3 separate regions of the Homo sapiens genome follow, and all the other regions are linked to region 2. The links are contacts of gene promoters, found by promoter capture Hi-C in blood cells and fetal thymus (Javierre and others, 2016). All regions are on one chromosome and are shown on one strand. The core of a region is centred on a gene start or on the middle of the fragment in contact, and the rest is flanking DNA. Distances in the headings are between cores, read along the strand shown.

Region 1 (2,946 bases), core at 170-2,669, 210 kb after region 2:
TGTCAATCCCAAGAGGGACAAATGAGCTGGACAGGAACAGGGAGGAAAGACAGAGGTCAGTGACCAGGACCTTTTTAGAAAGTTGGGATTGGAATAGACAAGGAGGTTTACAGGGGAAGGTCATTACTGTAATCTGAGGCATGCTTTGCTGGATTTTGGCAGGCAGGGGTGACCAGGTGTATGCTGGGAGCTAGAGAGAAGCTGAGTTCACCTCACAGTTCTGCAGGTAGTCAGAATATCTGCTGATAGTGGGGGCTAGCCATGTTGGCAGTCTGATCCTCTCTACTCTGAACATGCTGTTCTGGAGAATTCATGGCTTCCAACCCTGGTATATCTTGCCAGCAAATGCTATATGAATGGTTATTCCACAACTAAGCTATAGGTCACCCAGAAACCCCCAGGACAGCTGTCAGGAGGCCAAGACTCAGTATAAGGAGGCTACAGGGCAGACTACTGGGTTTGACATGTAATGTGGCTCTTATGCTGACACTGGTACCCCATGTTTCTTGCCAGAGGCTGGAGTACCATTCCCTCATGGAGGTTCTTCACCTAGTGACCTTCATTGCCATCTTCATGGGAATCCCCACACACCCTTACTGCAGTTGGGTTTTTATAGCCTCCAGGACCCTGCCTCCCACCCTGAGCTCCAGCATTCTGTCCTGATAATGTCATAGCCAGTTCTGGTCTTCGTGTTACTTGAGAGGGTTGTAGCCAGAGAACTAGTTGTGGGTCCCCATCTTGTACCTTTCCTTGAGTAGGTCAAAGCCTGCTCTCACACGAGTCTGGGGAAGCCCGGCAGCCTGGCCTTGCCTCTCCAATGGGAGGGGAAATGAGGAGGGAGTAGGCTGTCTGAACTGCTTGGTATGCCTGACAGTGGACTCTCTTTCTGCTCACTGACCCTGAGAAACAGCTTTGTCCTTTATGGCTCCTCCTTGACTGTTTCCCGCCCTCCAACTGTCATTATCCTGGGGTATTGATTTCCAAACCTGACAGGTATGGAGAATCACCAGGATGCTAGAAAAAAGAGGGCCCTATCTCTGGAGATTCTCTGTATTTAACTAGTTATGAATGAGGCCTGGGAATCTGGCACTTTTGTACAGATATATGTAAAAGATCTGTTGAGGATGAATAAGAGACTTAACTAAGTTGCTGAGTACGTTTTATTTCCTTTTTTGTCCAACTCTGTGCTTTTTGGATATTAATGGTCACACATTGTTTTTAGAAATCAGAGAAAGAATTGATGTCATTACAAAACAAAAAACACATCCTGAAATGATCTTTCAGAAACAATTAATCCTCTTAAATTTGTTCCTCTTTTCCGCAGGGGGACTTGATCTCATCTTCATGCCAGGCCTTGGGTTTGACAAACATGGCAACCGACTGGGGAGGGGCAAGGGCTACTATGATGCCTATCTGAAGCGCTGTTTGCAGCATCAGGAAGTGAAGCCCTACACCCTGGCGTTGGCTTTCAAAGAACAGATTTGCCTCCAGGTCCCAGTGAATGAAAACGACATGAAGGTAGATGAAGTCCTTTACGAAGACTCGTCAACAGCTTAAATCTGGATTACTACAGCCAAATAATCAGTGTTTTATATGAGAGTAAAGCAAAGTATGTGTATTTTTCCCTTGTCAAAAATTAGTTGAAATTGTTCATTAATGTGAATACAGACTGCATTTTAAAATTGTAATTATGAAATACCTTATATAAAACCATCTTTAAAAACCAATAGAAGTGTGAATAGTAGAATATTAATTAAAATGGAGGCTATCAGCCTGTGATTTTCAGCTTAACTTCCTGGTGTTAATGTGACAAGTTGATCTGTCTACTTTGCAATTTAAGTTAAATATTTATGAGGAACTGTGCTCCGACTGAGTGCGAGAGGAAGGTAAACTTGCGGGAGTGGGCACTGTATTTCATTACGCCTTTCATGACCTGGTCTGTCCTGGCAGGCACATGGAGACTTGGGGACTATTAATTTATTTGTTGGTATTTGCTTTGGATACAGAATTCCCTAAGAATATTATCTCACTTCATCATGACTTCCTTTACCCACTCTAGAATTTTATGTTGGACACTTTGTAGCTTTTGGTGGTTAGTGGAGGGAAACCTTTTATGATTTAAATACTTTTACTCCACTGATTGGTTACCATCACTGCATGTATCAGCCCTTGATGAGTTTAAGATCTAGTATCTTATAAGTTAGAAATTATTTCTGTTTACTCATGGTTTCTGCTTTGGAAATGAAATTTGCTGTGAGTTGAAAGTTGGCAGATGGCAACACAGCTAGGGAGCAATAATTTTGTTGTGGGGAGGATTTGGTCATCTCCAGAAACCCGGGAGTCACGTGGCTCTCTTACTCACACTCCATGTCCATCCTGTCACCAGGTCTTGTTGATTTTGCCTCTGAAATGCCTCTTAAATCTATTCTCTCCTTTCAATTTTCCTGTCACTCCTTTTGTCCAGCCTTTTAGCATTTCTAAGCTGGACTAGGCGAGAGTGTCACACCTGCTTCCCTTGGCTTCCATCTTGCCTCTTCCAGTTTATTTCTCAAGCTGCAGTCAAACTGATCTTAGAAAACACGAATCTAATCATGCAGCACCCCTGACTAAGGTCTTCCGGTGGCTGTTCAGAGCCTCTTGGGTAGCAAACAGATGGCTTCTGTTGTATACAAAGCCCCTTAAGAGAGGTCTCCTCATCTACTTTTTCTAGCCTCTTCTCTCCCAACTCTGTATTCTCCTGTAACACTGACTGAGCACTGCAGGCTTCTGCCCTTTGCACATAGTAAGCATGCATTTCTCTCTGTCTGAAATGCTCTTTCTGTTGTTCATCTAGAAGACTGTTTTCCCTTGAAGACTCAGCCCTAGCATCACCTCTTCTGTGAAGTCTTCTGCTACTTTCCCAAGCAGAGTGAGTGTTCCTTCCCTTGTCTGAGTGGCCTTGGCCAT
Region 2 (2,767 bases), core at 162-2,661:
ACTCAGAAAGTGCCTTAAAATTGGTGACATGGTTACCGAACAACTAACCTTAAAAGTTTATGGTATTTTACACTTTTAAAAAATCAAATTCCGATTTCGGTTTGAAAGAGGAATTTAATCCTGTTTCTCGGAGCTTCAAAATCATTAATTCTGCCCGGCTTTTTTTTGAGACGGAGTCTCCCTCTGTCGCCAGGCTGGAGTGCAGTAGCGCGATCTTGGTTCACTGCAACCTCCGCCTCCCGGGTTCAAGCGATGCTCCTGCCTCAGCCTCCCAGTAGCTGGGACTACCGGCGCCCGCCACCACACCCAGCTAATTTTTGTATTTTTAGTAAAGACAGGGTTTCACCATGTTGGCCAGGATGGTCTCGATCTCCTGACCTCGTGATTAGTCCGCGTCGGCCTCCCAAAGTGCTGGGATTACAGGCGTTGAGTCACCGCGCGTGGCCAATTCTGCCCAGTTTTTATGGCCCAACAACTTAATATAAATTATCTTTAGGTAACCCCAAGGTCCTAACTTCCTCACAACTGGTTACAACTTCCGAGATGTGAAGGTAAATCATAGCGTCCCAACTGTGTAGGATAGTTAGCACGTGACTTAAAAACCAAGTTAAAAAGATTTCAAACACAATATTCTTTCATACTTTTTTAGGTAGCTAAAACTTAAATATAACTATTTCAAAAAAGCAGACAAAAAATTTAGAATCCTAAGCAAGCTAAACCCAAGCAGGAAAAAAAGAGACCAATTCCCTTCCCGGTGCCAGTCAGGAGTTGGAGACACCGGGCTGCCTCCGGCTGGTTTCTGAAAAACGCCGCAGGTGGAAAAACATCCCGAAGAGGACCTGAGACTCGGAGGAGGCGGGGAACTGACGCGCCCCAGTGTGCCCGGGGCCCTTCCGACCCCCGCCAGCCAACCGCTCGCAACCCGCTCGGGGCGGCGCGCGTCGCGGCCTCCGCGGCCCTGAAGAACTGAGGCTCCCGACCCCAGCGCGACCACCCTGACAGGAAGCGGCCCCCGGCCGCGGGCGCCCGCGCGCCGTCTGAGGTGAACCCGCCGATCTCCGGCCCCCACCCCCGGAGCCGGGAGTCCTCGCCCTCTCGCCCGCGGCCCCCGCGGGCCCACCACCTGCTGCGCCGGCCGGCCGCCCTCCGCTTCCGGCTCTCGGGCGCCGGGAGGGGCCGGGGGCGGGCCTCGCCTAGCTGCAGCCGGGTGGGGGAAGGGAGCAGGCGGGGGAGGGGCAGCGCCGGGCAAGCCGGGCCCCGCGGGCCGCGCTCCTCACCTGGCGGCGGGTCTCTCCGCCTGACACGCTGCGCGCCGCCGCCGGTAGCCGCCGGTGAATGGGTACAGGTAATGCCGCCGAACCCCTGCTTGCTCCGGCTCCGCCACCGCCGGCCCCTCCGTCCGCTGTTTATTAAACTTTTCTGTTTGGTTGTTCGGCCTATGACGCGACCGCGGAGGAGAGCCACTGGATTGGCCGGCTCCCGCGGCTGACGCGCGGGCCCCGCCCGCCCGCTAATTATTACCGGCGCGGGCGGGGCCGCAGGCCGGAGGAGGCGGGGAGAGGCGGGGTCAAGGCTCGGAGCGCACGGCAATTGGCCGGAGGCAGGAAAAGAGGCGGGGCGGAGCGAAAGGAGATGCTCCTCCGCCTTCTGCACCTCCAGTGTCCCTTGCTCCACTGCCCTCTCTGGGGCGCTTCCCGCCGCGGTTTCTCTACCTCCAATAGCTACGGGAAGGCGATTAAGAGGTGCCGCGGAGACTTTAAGGGCTTGGTTATGTAGGTTCAGGTACCTTTGCCACCTCGCAGGGAATGGCGTGTCCCTGTCTTGGACTGAGGCACCAAAAAGAGTTGCACTCCACCTGCCACTTGTGCAGGAAGGAATTCTGAGCTTCTGTCTTCCCATGCAGGCCGGCGCCTCAGTCTGCAAGCGCAAAGTCCGAGCTCAGGGCGCATACTGGAAAGCAGTTCTCTGCCCTGTCCTGAACTGGGACTTGGAAATAGAAGCAAGACGAGAAGCGTGCATGCACACGTGTGCAATACATACATGCACAGGCACAAGCACCCCCAGTTCCAGCCTGTTCCAAAAGCACGGGGTCAGTTCCCACCTGCGTGGTGCACGCTGGGCTGCTGCGCTGGAACTAGGGGTGATAGGCAGAATGGCTCCCCCTGAAGTTTTTCAGCCTTCGTTCGGGCTCACGAGCATCACGAGCAGGAAGTACGTGACACTTTAGTTCGAGGTCATTCAATCCTATTGTGAATGAGGAGTTCCGTTAGGGCATCCAGGTAGGCGAGCCCAGTCCTGAGAATCCTCTTTATTTTAAATGTTGGTATTTTGTTATTCATGGATTTTTTTTTTGCATTAATTTTAATTTTAAAAAATAAAAATGTTATTCATCTTGATCACTTAGTTTTTTGGTGCTCCCTTAAATGTTGTGCCTGAAGTGAGTACCTGTTGAGCATTTAGCAACACAGAAGTCACCTTGGGGAGTACAGTTTAAGTGGAGGACAAAAGCCTGATTGGAATGGTAATAAAACCTACTTGTTAGGCTATTTGTGGGGGTTAAATAACATAATATGTGTGAAAGAGCTTCTTGAACTAGCAAGGTTATGCGTCAAGTCTTACGGATTTTGTCTTAAATGTATTTTTCTTCCGATTCTTGTCCAGTTTATCGTTGTATTAACTCCAGCACCTAACCCAGTTGGATTTTCATATGCAGTTATTATGAATTTGCAGAAATTGGGTTTACATGACCTTTACTGCTTTCCTTTGT
Region 3 (2,871 bases), core at 136-2,635, 130 kb before region 2:
TAAGATTTAATTAATTTTTTTGAGCTGGGTGCAGTGACACGGGCTTGTAATTCCAGCTACTCAGATGGCTGAGGCAGGATGATCCCTTGAGCCCAGGAGTTTGAGGCCAGCCTGGGCAGCATAGTGAGACCCCATATCAAAAAACAAAACAAAAACAGATTTTATTACATTTTCAAAAAATGAATTTAGACATTTCATTTTGATTTAAAGAATTTTGAGATTAAATATTAAAGCTCTTTAATTATTTGTATCTCGCTTTTTATTATTAATAATTTTGAATATTTTCAAAGAAAACTAACTTTGAAAATGCATATGAAAAATTTAATTTTTCAATTTTTAACACAGAGTTTTGATGAAGATATTTACTTCTTGTACACTGAAGTATAATTCAATGTACTTTTTAATCTTTTATATCATCAATAAACCACACATTATATGAAAAGCTCAGGAGAGCATAATTAATGATTCTAATGAAATTAAAGAAAGAAAAATAATTGTAAAAATTAAAGTCTGATTTTAAAAATGTATAAAGTATAAAATTCATGAATTTATGTCTTTAATGCTCATCCAAACATTGCCATCCCATCGACTTTCTTCAAGTGCGGTGATAATTAAGTTTAGTTGTATATTTTACCAATTTTCAATCACATAAAAGCCATCACTTTGCAAATATGTTTGTTTTGCAATTATGAAAGCAAACATATCTAGGTAGGAGAATAGAAAGTATTTTATTTAACAGTGTATAGCTTGTTTATACCTCCTAAATACTGAGACTCCATGAGCACTCTCAGCTTAGGCCCTGCAAATGCTAGAAGTAGACCTATCAATAAGACACAATCTGCTCCCAGTGCTCTCCTAGAATTCATTCACTTACTGAATGAGTATACATCGAGCGGCTCTTACGTGCTAGGTACTGATGAACTTTCAGTAAGCAAAAGCAGACTATCCTCAAGGAGCTGAAAATCCAATGAAGGCAGATATTGATCAAATCATCATAGACAACAAAGGTCTATTTATTTCCAGGATCATGACCTTGGTGGGAATAGATGTGCCATGCTACTCCATTCCCTCTCCAAGAAAGAAATTGTCACTCCAACTTTTTGGTGTGCTGTTGGCAAACAGTCTGAAAATAAGACTGGCCTCAGCCTTATTTAGTTTTCAAGAGCAGAATTTTAAAAAACAAAAACAGGCTTGCAAGCAAGCATCCAGTCTTGGTCCCTCTCCCACGAGTTTCTTTCTGCCTCTCTGCAGGAGGAAGGAGAGCAAAATACTCCCACAGCCCTGGAAATCTTGCTGAGAGGACAGAAAGAGAGGGGATACACAGAAAACAAATTAGTACTTCAGGATACAACCCTGCCAAATTACTTTTTCTGGGGGTGTTAAAGGGAATATGCTTCCAAACTAAAGAAAGGGAGAAAATGTGAAAATAGAACCACTTTTGAGATCCATTTTGGTGTCAGGAATCTTTGAGATAATATTAATTGTGATACTTTACACCCCAAAATTGCCAGGCATGGTGTGTCATGCCTGTAATCCCAGGACTTTGGGAGGGCAAGGCAGGAAGATCACTTGAGCACAGGAGTTCAAGACCAGCCTGGGCAACATAGTGAGATCCCGTCTCTATAAAAAATCAAAAAATCACCTGGCCATGGTGGTGTGCACCTGTAGTCTCAGCTACTTGGGAGGCTGAGGTGGGAAGATCACCTGAGCCAGAGAAGTCAAGGCTGCAGTGAGCCAAGATTGTGCCACTGCACTCCAGCCTAGGTGACAGAGTGAGACCCTTTCTCAAAATTAAAAAACAAAACGAAACAAAAAAACAGAAAAAATCCTTAAAGTTCCCTTGTCCTCAAAAACATTGTCTTGGTTCAAGTCTACACTCACCCTCAGGAGAGCTCTCAATGTACAGTGTTTCAAAGGTAAACCAATGTGTGTGAGAGGCCTCAGGACAGAGAAGTCCCATGGTGGGGGCAACAAGGCTTCTCTTCCTCCAGTCCCCTCTGCAATAGGGACAGGGGCTCCCAGCCCCTGGAACCCCTAGTGCCTGCCCTGGCCCCGGGCAGTAGCGTGCCCCTGAGCCTAGCTCCCTTGCCACCCTACAATAAAACCAGCAGTGGGCCCCATCTTGCCAGAAACACCTCTGGACTGACTCCTCCTGGTCAGGTAAAGTTTCAAATGAACTCTACTCTCAGTTTCACAGTCATCCATTCATATTCCGAATGGACCACTGGTTAAAAACAGGAAGCATAAATGGAATACAAATTAATAAGGAAGATATAGTGATAACTATGGCCAACCTGCCTTGAGATGCTCATCATCCCGTCTGAAAGCTCCATTCATCTGGTCAAAATGCTTCTAGTCCTTAAAATATCACTGTCAAAAAGAGGAAATTTGACCCTGAAAGTCATTCTTGTCTATTTCATATTATTACACACAGATAGGTTTCAATAAAGTAGATCTCCAAAACTAAAGACCATTAAAGTCACTTGTCATGTGGGGCTGGCAGTGAGCATTTCTGGAGTCGGAGACAGTAAAACAAAGAGGCTCTTGTCGCTGAAGATTAAGGAAAAGTAATTGCCAAGTAAAGCCCAGGCTGGACCCAGAATTAACATCCATGAGTTTGGTTTCTTAAGTGAATCTGATGCCAGGAACGTTTCTGGCTCTTTCTGCCCTGTGTGTGTTTCAGACTCTGGGGCAGGTCCATTGGGTTTTCCCAACATCACCAAGCCCTTTAAGTGCATTAAATGCCCAACAAGGGGATAAGCGTGTGATCTCTACTGATGACACCAGCATTCTCTGGTGCCAGTGGGAACAAGTGGATTAACAATGATTTTAAGTGACCTTTGCCTGTGACCCAGAGATCTCCAGTAAAGC

What was found. The method cuts DNA at HindIII sites, captures the fragments that hold promoters and counts their contacts. A CHiCAGO score of 5 or more calls a contact.
Region 1: a contact is called between a fragment that was not itself captured here and the fragment with the promoter of ZFAND6 in region 2, in 1 of 17 cell types (neutrophils). The highest score is 5.4, in neutrophils.
Region 3: a contact is called between a fragment that was not itself captured here and the fragment with the promoter of ZFAND6 in region 2, in 2 of 17 cell types (megakaryocytes and erythroblasts). The highest score is 6.0, in megakaryocytes.

The regions. Positions count from the first base shown.
Region 1 is chr15:79,843,821-79,846,766 of GRCh38, reverse strand. It overlaps ST20-MTHFS (ST20-MTHFS readthrough), which reads left to right. Exons shown (of 4, transcript NM_001199760.2): 4 at 1,325-2,946. The coding sequence ends at 1,557. MTHFS (methenyltetrahydrofolate synthetase) reads left to right here. Exons shown (of 3, transcript NM_006441.4): 3 at 1,325-2,946. The coding sequence ends at 1,557. Among named protein-coding and RNA genes, the nearest start is that of MTHFS, 52 kb to the left of the region's middle. The HindIII fragment of the contact is 8,304 bases long and covers 1-2,946 here.
Region 2 is chr15:80,058,320-80,061,086 of GRCh38, reverse strand. ZFAND6 (zinc finger AN1-type containing 6) reads right to left here and starts at 1,411. Exons shown (of 7, transcript NM_019006.4): 1 at 1,278-1,411. RefSeq lists silencers at 839-1,708, 1,405-1,733. The HindIII fragment of the contact is 4,474 bases long and covers 1-2,767 here.
Region 3 is chr15:80,188,612-80,191,482 of GRCh38, reverse strand. No RefSeq gene overlaps it. Among named protein-coding and RNA genes, the nearest start is that of FAH, 37 kb to the right of the region's middle. RefSeq lists an enhancer at 1,981-2,150. The HindIII fragment of the contact is 5,335 bases long and covers 1-2,871 here.